Linked DNA regions of Homo sapiens: region 2 is linked to region 1. Evidence: promoter capture Hi-C in human tissues and cell types (Jung and others, 2019). All regions are on one chromosome and are shown on one strand. The core of a region is centred on a gene start or on the middle of the fragment in contact, and the rest is flanking DNA. Distances in the headings are between cores, read along the strand shown. Region 1 holds the start of PRDX3 (peroxiredoxin 3). Region 2 overlaps GRK5 (G protein-coupled receptor kinase 5).

Evidence for each region. Contacts are between HindIII fragments. The study calls those that stand out against the background at their distance.
Region 2: a fragment that was not itself captured here is called in contact with the fragment with the promoter of PRDX3 in region 1 in 2 of the 25 tissues and cell types used here (mesenchymal stem cells and spleen).

The regions. Positions count from the first base shown.
Region 1 is chr10:119,176,163-119,181,129 of GRCh38, forward strand. It overlaps PRDX3 (peroxiredoxin 3), which reads right to left and starts at 2,650. Exons shown (of 7, transcript NM_006793.5): 1 at 2,593-2,650; 2 at 859-991. The coding sequence starts at 2,628. RefSeq lists enhancers at 1,529-2,173, 2,173-2,652 and a silencer at 2,683-2,792. The HindIII fragment of the contact is 15,713 bases long and covers 1-4,967 here.
Region 2 is chr10:119,222,164-119,227,130 of GRCh38, forward strand. All of the region lies in intron 1 of GRK5 (G protein-coupled receptor kinase 5), which reads left to right. Among named protein-coding and RNA genes, the nearest start is that of GRK5-IT1, 16 kb to the left of the region's middle. RefSeq lists an enhancer at 210-721. The HindIII fragment of the contact is 5,772 bases long and covers 1-4,967 here.

The DNA.
Region 1 (4,967 bases), core at 1,400-3,899:
CAAAACTGAAAAGGACTTGCTTCTACCCAGGAATGAGCGACAGAGTAGTTCCAATGTCAAAATGCCTGACACCGCCATGAACAGAAACAGGAGGCGCTGCTGGGGATGAGGATTCGAAACCAGTGGAGTAAAGTTTTAAGCCTGTGGTATCACATCACTACTAGAAATATTTTGAAGCTCCAGGGTAGTAAAATTGCGAAAGCTCTTAGAACATTTTGCCCACAAACAAAGGCTTTACTAAAGTATATCCCCACAAACCATTACATATTAAATACGGGCTTTTTCAAAGGCTAGTCAAATCTAGACAAGGTATTTTCAAATACCACTCATTATCTGAGGCTGATCTTAGCAAAGCCCATATCCTAGAGAAGGGAGTGTAAATCTCAAGAAACAGCTAAATTTCGCTCAGATTACAGATACCATTAGACAGGTCTGGTTCCTAAGTGGCCAGCTGGGGCCATTACACAGGTTTGAATCTTAGAGCAGCTGCCCTCTCAGGTCCCCCACAGGCTGCCCACCACTCACAGCTCTTCAGACACACTAGACTCAGAAGGCATCTGAGCTCCCAGTAACACCCTCCTCAACACAGTGGATTAGAAACTCTGACAACCAACATGGAAATGTGACAAGGGCAGTTTGCCTCAGTGATTCTCAACCCTGGCTGCACGTTAGAATCACCCGGCACATCCTGGTCTCACCCCACAGACTAACTTGTCTGGGGTGGGACGGGGGCAGTGCTGTGTTCCTGAAAGCTCCCAGGTGACTCTAACGTTTGGCCAGGGTTCAGAGCCCCTGTCCAGAGACGATGGTTCATTTTTCCTTTACCTGGCTCCAGCCAAGACATGACATAACACTTACTGGTGCTGAATAATTTTGCTTGACTGGAACCAGAACACAATAAATTTGTCAAGCTCGTTCTTCCACATGCAGCAGGCCTGAGGGCTGCAGTGGCAGAAATGCCCCAAGGAATGGCACTCACATGTCGGGCAACCTGGAAAGAGAAACTTTTTATTAGAAAGTTTTCCTGGACTGGTGACTGAAGGCTGAAAGGGCATCGTGCCAACGGTGGTTTCAGCTGTCCCTGTTCCTGTGAACCAAATAGCAAACCCCAAACTCTAAGAGCATGGATTGGATCTGCATGTTCTTAACACTCCCTTCTGCTTCCTTCTCCTAGGAGACTGGAAGGTGGAGAGGAACTATAAGAACACAAAGACCGGCTGGGCGCGGTTGCTCACACCTGTAATCCCAGCACTTTGGGAGGCCAAGACGGGTTGATCACCAGGTCAGGAGTTCGAGACCAGCCTGGCCAAGATGGTGAAACTCCATCTCTACTAAAAACACAAAACTTAGCCAGGCGGCGGTGGCGGGCACCTGTAATTCCAGCTGCTTGGGAGGCTGAGGCAGGAGAATTGCTTGAACCCGGGAGGCAGAGGTTGCAGAGCCGAGATCGCGCCATTGCACTCTAACCTGGGCGACAACTCCGTCTCAAAAAAAAAAAAAAAAAAAATCAGAAACTCCATGCGCTTAAAGCAACACAGGGTTCAGAAGCCAGGGGACTTGTGCAGGCTTTTCCCAGCACTATCTGCTGAGTATGTTCTACCATTTCAAGGTTTTCCTTAGAAAAACAAGGCCCCTCCAGCACCAGCGACAAGTAAACAAGAAGAGCCAAATTCAGCCTCTGGGAGTCTGTTAAAGGCTCAAGGGACATGTTTACTCAACTTTTTTTTTTTTTTTTTGAAACAGAGTCTCGCTCTTTTACCCAGGCTAGAGTGCAGTGGCGCGATCTCGGCTCGCTGCAGTCTCGACCTCCTGGGCTCAAGTGATCCTCCCACCTTAGCCTCCCCAGGAGCACTGACCACCATGCCCGGCTATTTTTTTTTTTAGAGACAAGGTCTCACTATTATTGTCCAGGCTGGTCTCAAACTCCTGGGCTCAAGTGATCTGCCCGCCTCGGCCTCCCAAAGTGCTAGGATTACAGGCGTGAGCCACCGCACTCTGCCGGTTTGCTCAACTTTAATGTTCAAAATGACTCAGGAGAACGAAAGGGGCTGTGTTGAACCCCACCAGAGAAAGCCGTGTACCAAAAGAGCACGACGCATTGCCCACAGTTAAGCAGGAAACAGCAGCAGAAACACGCGGGAGTGGGATTGGGAGGGAAAGCCTTTGTGAGTTTTTTAGCACTTTGCGCGTTTTTATCCAGTATTTAAGGGGCTGTTCACAGCAACGCCTTGATGTAGGCATCATTCTTTCCATCTTAAGTACACAGTCTGAGAAAGGCGAAGGCGCTTGCCCAAGATCACAGGGTCGGTGGCAGAATCAGGGCCAGGACCTTAAGTGGAGATGGGCCTGGGGACCGGGGACGCCGAAAGAGGAGGGACTCGGGGAAGAGACCGCGAGGATGGAGTGGGGAAGGGCGGTTCTGCGCAGGCGCATGGAACCTTCCCGGAGGGAGGCCTCTGGGTCCGTTACCCGCGGAAACCCTCCAAGAAGGGCGAATGGCCCTCATGCCCAGAAGCGCGGGGTCCTGTCTGAGAAGCACGTTCCCGGAGCCACCAGTGTCTCCACGCCTGTCCCCAGCCGACAGCCACTCACCGACGCTCGGAGCAACCGTCCTACAGCAGCCGCCATCTTCAGTGCACTCGGGCGCCACGGGGCGGGCAGAGACGCAGGGGCGGGGCCTACGGGGTGGTGAGCGGGCCCTCTGCTGGTGGGGGGGCGGGGCCGGAGGAGCCACCGCCTCCCCGCCTCCTGGAGACCCTGAGGGAGAAATTCCCTTTAAGGCTGAATGCTTGGGCAAGTGACACGTGGTTTTCCTACTGTCGCCCCAACCTTAAAAGAACGAATCCAGGCGGGGCATTAGGTATTTGTTTCCATATTTCCCACTGTTTTGTTAACCTTGTGTGGATTACTGTGTCTAGTATTTCTGTGACAGGATCCCTTTCTTATTTCAGCCTCAGGTAGAGACTTCCGGCTTCTGTATGAAATGGAATTAATTACAAATGCAGTTTTAGTCCGTTAATAAGCTAAGTGGGCTAGACACATCAAGGCTTTGTTGGCCTGAAATCCGCTGGAATTGTGTGTGGTCTAACATTTGGCCTCTCTTCCCAAAATTGGGAAAACTGGGACAAATTTAAAATTTGGTTTTTGTCTATTAATGAAGCCAAGTGTTCAGTGGTGAGCATAGTACTTGAAGCAACCACATCAAACATAGATAAAAATCACACCGTGGCCTTACAGTAAGTGTGACAAATTGCAGTCTTGGAGCTGGTATTTTCTTTTCTCTTTTCTTTTCTTTTCTTTTTTTTTTTTTTTGAGACTGGGTCTTGCTCTGTCGCCCAGGCTGGAGTGCAGTGGCATGATCTTGGCTCACTGCAACCTCTGCCTCCCGGGTTCAAGCGATTCTCCTGCCTGAGCTTCATGAGTAATTGGGATTCCTGAGCAGCTGGGATTACAGCCGCCTGCCACCATGCCCAGTTAAGTTTTTGTATTTTAAGTAGAGATGGGGTTTCACCATGTTGGCCAGGCTGGTCTCAAACTCCTGACCTCAAGTGATCCGCCCACCTCGGCCTCCCAAAGTGCTGGGATGATAGGCATGAGCCACTGCACCCGGTCTGAGTTGGTATTTTCCAATCACTAGTCATTCAATTAGCAACTTCGTTTCTCAAGTCTTCTTATCACCAAATATCACTTACTATTTTCTTTAAATTGGCTTTCTTTTTTTTTTTTCCTTTTCTTTTTTGAGACAGAGTCTCACTCTGTCGTCCAGGCTAGAGTGCAGTGGCACAATCTCGGCTCACTGCAACCTCTACCTCCTTGGTTCGAGCGATTCTTCTGGCTCAGCCTCTCGAGTAGCTGGGATTACAGGCGTGCACCACTAAACCCGGCTAATTTTTTTAGTATTTTTAGTAGAGATGGGGTTTCACCATATTGGCTAGGCTGGTCTTGAACTCCTGACATCAGGTGATCCTCCCACCTTGGCCTCCCAAAGTGCTGGGATTACAGGCGTGAGCCACCACACCCAGCCCAGTATATTTTCTAAAATCATCTCAGGTACCACTAGGCGCCACCCTGGGTACCAGTCCCCAGATGTGGAAAGGACTGCCTTGGATGTGTGGGGACACACGTTTCGACTATTTCACCTCACACCTTCCTTGTGTTTGTTTAATTGGTTTTAATTATGTCTGTGTTTAGCAGATGATTGAAAAGGAGACAATCATTTTGGAGCTCAAAATCGTACTGTAGGCCGGGCGCAGTGGCTCACATCTGTAATCCCAGCACTTTGGGAAGCTGAGGTGAGTGGATCACCTGAGGTAAGGAGTTCAAGACCAGCCTGACCAACATGGTGAAACCCTTTCTCTACTAAAAATTGCAAAATTAGCTGGGCATGGTGGTGCATACCTGTAATCTCAGCCACTTGGGAGGCTGAGGCAGGAGAATCACTTTAACCTGGGAGGCAGAGGTTGCAGTGAGCCGAAATTGAACCAGTGCACTCCAGCCTCAGCAACAAGATTGAAACTCCGTCTCAAAAAAAAAAAAAAAAATACTGTAGTTCACAATGGAATATTATTTATCCATAAAAGGAATGAAATACTGATATATGCTACAACACAGATGAACTTTGAAAACACTAGCTAAGTGAAAGAAGCCAGACACAAAAGAACAAATAGTGTGTGTTTCCTTTTATATGAAACATCTAAAATAGGTAATTCCAAAGGGACAGAAAGCAAATCAGCAATTGTTAGGGACTGGGAGAAGCTGGCATGGGGACTGACTATTTATTTTTTATTTTATTTATTTATTTTTGAGACAGAGTCTCCCTCTGTTGCCCAGGATGGAGTACAGTGATGCAATCTCAGCTCACTGCAACCTCAGCTCACTGCAACCTCTGCCTCCCAGATTCAAGCAATCCTCCTGCCTCAGTCTCCCGAGTAGCTGGGACTACAGGTGTGACCACCATGCCCAGCTAA
Region 2 (4,967 bases), core at 962-3,461, 46 kb after region 1:
TTCCAAGATCACATACCAAGGAGCCACTTCCCCTTGTTTCCTGTGGTGCCAATCCATTGCTTCGTTTTTCGTGTTTGAGAGCTTTTGCGTTTCATTGTACATTGTACAATTCTAGGGAGCCATTGTTCCCATCCTAAAGCTGGTAGATGTGTAAATGTATCAGGTCGGGGGGCAGAAAGTGTCTTGAGGAAGGGACGCCCCTTCCTAATCCCCTCCAAGTGCTGCCTGTGCTGGTGTCAGTCCTCCTGAGGTCATTTGCCCTGTCTTTGATCTGGCACAGTATCCTCCTCTGTGGAATTCTGTAGCTCTTCCTCTGGTAACTGCTTTCACTAAAGGTTTGCATGGAATTTACCTAGACAAGGGCCCTACGGTTCCCACCTGAGAATAGAAAACGCCCATTAAAAACAGCACCACACAAAACAAATCAGTGGCCCCTCCTCCTGCTCTGCCTCCCTCCGAGATAAGCTTGGCATGAGGGCATAGTCCAGAGCCCCACGGCCTTCAGTAATTTTGTTAACAATTGGAGGAGAATGGCATTTTCTTCTGGGAAACATTTGCAGATGTGTGAGCTAGCTCTACATGGGGAAGGGCTGCCCCTTCACTGCGTGCTGAGGCTACGGGCTCCGTGTCCTGTCAGAGTGTGGGAGGGAGCTCCTCACACTGAAGCCAGCTCCTTCCTTCCGCAAAGAAGGGATCTGAGGGCCAAAAGGGGCCCGCATGGGTGGCCGTGCAGGAGCAGAAAGAGGCTCCAAAGCAGGATGGGTCCCCTGGCCTGGATTTTCCTCCAGGGCAGCTCTGCAACTCTAACACCCATCCCCAGGCTGTGTGTTTCCTAGGGATACGTAATAAAGTGCCACCAACTGGGTGGTTTAGAACAACAGACATCTATTGTCGCACAGTTCTGGAGGCCAGACGTTTGAAATCAAGGTGTGTGCAGGGCCGTGCTCCCTCTGAAGGTACCCGGGGAAGACCCGTTCCAGGCCTCTCTCCTTGGCTTGTTGGTGGCTGTCTTCTCCCTGTGCGTCTTCCTCTTGTGCATCTGTCCCTGTGTCCAGAGTTATCCTTTGTATAAGGACACCAGTGCTATTGGATCATGGCCCACTTGAATGACCTCATGTTAACTTGATTACCTCCATAAAGATCCTATTTCCAAATAAAGTCACATTCTGAGGTACCGGGGGTTAGGACTTCAACATAATCTTCTTTGGAGGACGCAGTGAACCCTGGAACACAGGCCCTGCCTGTACTGAAGCAGCAGCTTTTGGGGATAGCCTGTATTTTTAAAACAGGAGGTTCTGAGGATGAACCAGGCGTGGGAACTGCTGCTCTATAGAACCCTGGAGCTGGTGGGTTTTCTGAGTGCCTTCTGAGATTATCTTGGACATCCAGACTACTCTGACCGGGTCCCCAAATAGGACTCTGCAGGTTCCCTGGCAGTTGGTTTCTGTCTTCTGCTCAAATATTTCTAGAGACGGGGAGCTCATACCTTCTTCTAAGCAGCCTATCCGATTTTAAACCACTGGATTAAAAATATCTATAATAATATATATATATTATATATATCTATATATATTAGATAGGCTTCTTGCCTCACCCACTAAATTGTAGACTTCCTGAGGGCTGACACCAGGGCTTTTTCTTTGTATCTTACTGGAACTAACGAGATGCTAAAAGTAAACCCAAGTCGGCCTGTGGAGACCTGGTATGTCTGGTGCCATGTTAACCCATTAGGTCCTGGTTCTGCTCTTTGGAGGTATCCAGGATAAATGCACCACTCTTTGCCTGAGGGGGCCCTTCTAATATTAGAAGACAACTATGATACCCACTGTAGAACTAAAAGCAGAACCCCAAGTCCGGCACGGTGGCACTCACCTGTAGTCCCAGCTACTCCCAAGCCAGGAAGATCACTTGAGCCAGGAGTTCTGGGCTGCAGTGTGCTATGCACTGCACTCCAGTGAATAGCCACTGCACTCCAATCTGGGCAACAGAGTGAGACCCTGTCTCTTAAAAAACAAACAAACAAACAAACATAGCCAGAACCCTGCCCTCCAGATTCCCAGACTGGGCTCTCATTGTGCATTGCAGCCAAGTAACAGACATAACCAACCTTAGGATAGGATTTATTAGCAGGTGGGAATGATGTTGTTGCTAACATCTGGCAAAGCTCAAGGCTTCATAACTTGCCAGAAGTGAGATCCAGTCACCCACTATTTATTTATTAATTTATTATTTATTTATTTATTTATTTATTTATTTATTTATTGAGACGGAGTGTTGCTCTGTCGCCCAGGCTGGAGTGCAATGGCACGATCTCGGCTCACTGCAACCTTCTGCCTCCCAGGTTCAAGCGGTTCTCTTGCCTCAGCGCCCCGAGTAGCTGGGATTACAGGCGCCCGCCACCATGCCCGGCTAACTTTTGCATTTTTTTTTAGTAGAGATGGGGTTTCACCATGTTGGTCAGGCTGGTCTCGAACTTCTGACCTCAGGTTATCCAACTGCCTTGGCCTTACAAAGTGCTAGGATTACAGGCGTGAGCCACTGCGCCCAGCCTAGTCACCCACTTTTTAATTTTCGAGGTAATATGGTATCTTCTCCTGCTGTGCATTGAGGCAAGATGTTTCCATTCCATTGAAAGCTTGATCAAGGTTCTATGAGAAGTTCAAAGGGAAAAGGAGAGTGTGCCACTCATGTGCTGTGTGGCTCCTCTCCAAGCAAAACCATCCTCAGCTGCATAAATGTGCAGCTTGGCCAGGTGATCCTGGAGTCTCTTCTCACCCTTCAAATCTTGAGAATTTGCAGGTGCATTTTCCACTGATAATTCAACTGTGGGTACTTCAGAATAAAATTTGATGTTAATTTGAAGAGCAGGCATTACACATTAAAACAAAAATTACCCCAAGGGAAGAATGAGAGCCAAGAGGGGTTACATTTGTAGTAGAAATAAACAGGAAAAAAACCCGCCACTGCTAATTGAACTGATTCTCGCAATCCAAGAAAGGCAAATGCATGATTCTAATGTTTTCTTTAGTAGATTACAGAAAGGAAGATTAAATCAAAAGTCAAAAATAAACAGTTTGATTATCCTACACTGTATTATCTTAATAAACTGTCTTCCTGGAAAGTTTAAAAATACACAGTACTTCATCTGGCCAAAGAAAACAGTAAGTAAATATTGTTGAGAAAATGTAAGAATTTTCCATCTAGATGTGAGGGGTGGAAATATTGCCATGTGGACTTCAAGACATCCCACAAGGAGTGAGAGAGTGATAGGTATTACCTACCTTTTAAGGCTTGTTGTCGGGGACACTGTTGTCACATACGGGGGAAGAGGTTGGGAGGGGAATGGGCCCTATCAAGCACTCTTCTGGGCTCCTGGCAAAACCTCACCCAGTTCTGCATTCTCCTGCAAGGTTTGTCTAGATACTAGCTGTATCCTGACTGGTGATGCTCAGATTTCATAGTTTAGGGTGATGTGGAGAGGACTGCTGATTTTCTTCTCTCTCTCTCTTTTTTTTTTTTTTTTTTGAGATAGAGTCTCGCTCTGTCACCCAGGCTGGAGTGCAATGGCGCGATCTTGGCTCACTGCAACCTCCTCCTCCTGGGTTCAAGCAATTCTCCTGTCTCAGCCTCCTGAGTAGCTGGGACTACAGGCATGCACCACTGTGCCCGGCTAATTTTTGTATTTTTTTTTCTTTTTTTTTTTGAGATGGAGTCTCGCTCTGTCACCCAGGCTGGTGTGCAGTGGCATGATCTTGGCTCACTGCAAGCTCCGCCTCCCGGGTTCACGCCATTCTCCTGCTTCAGCCTCCCGTGTAGCTGGGACTACAGGTGCCCGCCACCATGCCTTGCTAATTTTTGTATTTTTAGTAGAGATGGTGTTTCACCATGTTGGCCAGGATGGTCTCGATCTCCCGACCTCATGATCCACCCGCTTCAGCCTCCCAAAGTGCTGGGATTACAGGCATGAGCCAGCACCCGGCTAATTTTTGTATTTTTAATAGAGACGAGGTTTCATCATATTGGCCAGTCTGGGCTCGAACTCCTGACCTTGTGATCTGCCCGTCTCGGCTCCCCAAAGAGCTGGGATTACAGGTGTGAGCCACTGTGCCTGGCATCTTCTTCTTTTTCTTTTTTTTTTTTTTAATTTTAATTTTTTTTTTTTTTTTGAGATGAAGCCTAACTCTGTCACCCAGGCTGGAGTGCAGTGGAGCAATCTCGGCCCACTGCAACCTTTGCCTCCCAGGTTCAAGCGTGCTGATTCTCTTCTGCTTAATTTTTCTACAGTTGGAAGTAGCAAAAGGTGGAGACTAGTGATGTGAGTTCTGTCCTAGCTTTGTTGCTAACCTGCCAGAGACCAAGGCTGGTAACTTTGTGTCTCTGTATCTTTTTTTTTTTTTTTTTGAGACACAGTCTCACGCTTGCCCAGGCTGGAGTACAGTGGTGCGATCTCGGCTCACTGCAATCTCTGCCTCCTGGGTTCAAGAGATTCCCTTGTCTCTGCCACCTGAGTAGCTAGGATTACAGGCGCCTGCTACCATGCCCGGCTTTTTTTTTTCTTTTTCTTTTTTTTGTATTTTTAGTAGAGATGGGGTTTCACCATGTTGGTCAGGTTGGTCTCAAACTCCTGACCTCAAATGACCCATCTGCCTCAGCCTCCCAAAGTGCTGGGATTACAGGTATGAACCACTGTACCTGGCCTGTATCTTTTCTTTTGAGATGGTGTCTTGCTTTGTTGCCCAGGCTGGAGTGCAGTGGCGTGATCTTGGCTCACTGCCACCTTGGCCTCCTGGGCTCAAGTGGTTTTCCTGCCTCCGCCTCCCAAGTAGCTGGGATTATATGCGCCCGCCAGCACATCTGACTAATTTTTGTATTTTTAGTAAAGACGTTTCACTGTGTTGGCTAGGCTGGTCTCTAACTCCCAGTCTCAGGTGATCCGCCCTCCTTGGCCTCTCAAAGTGCTAAGATTA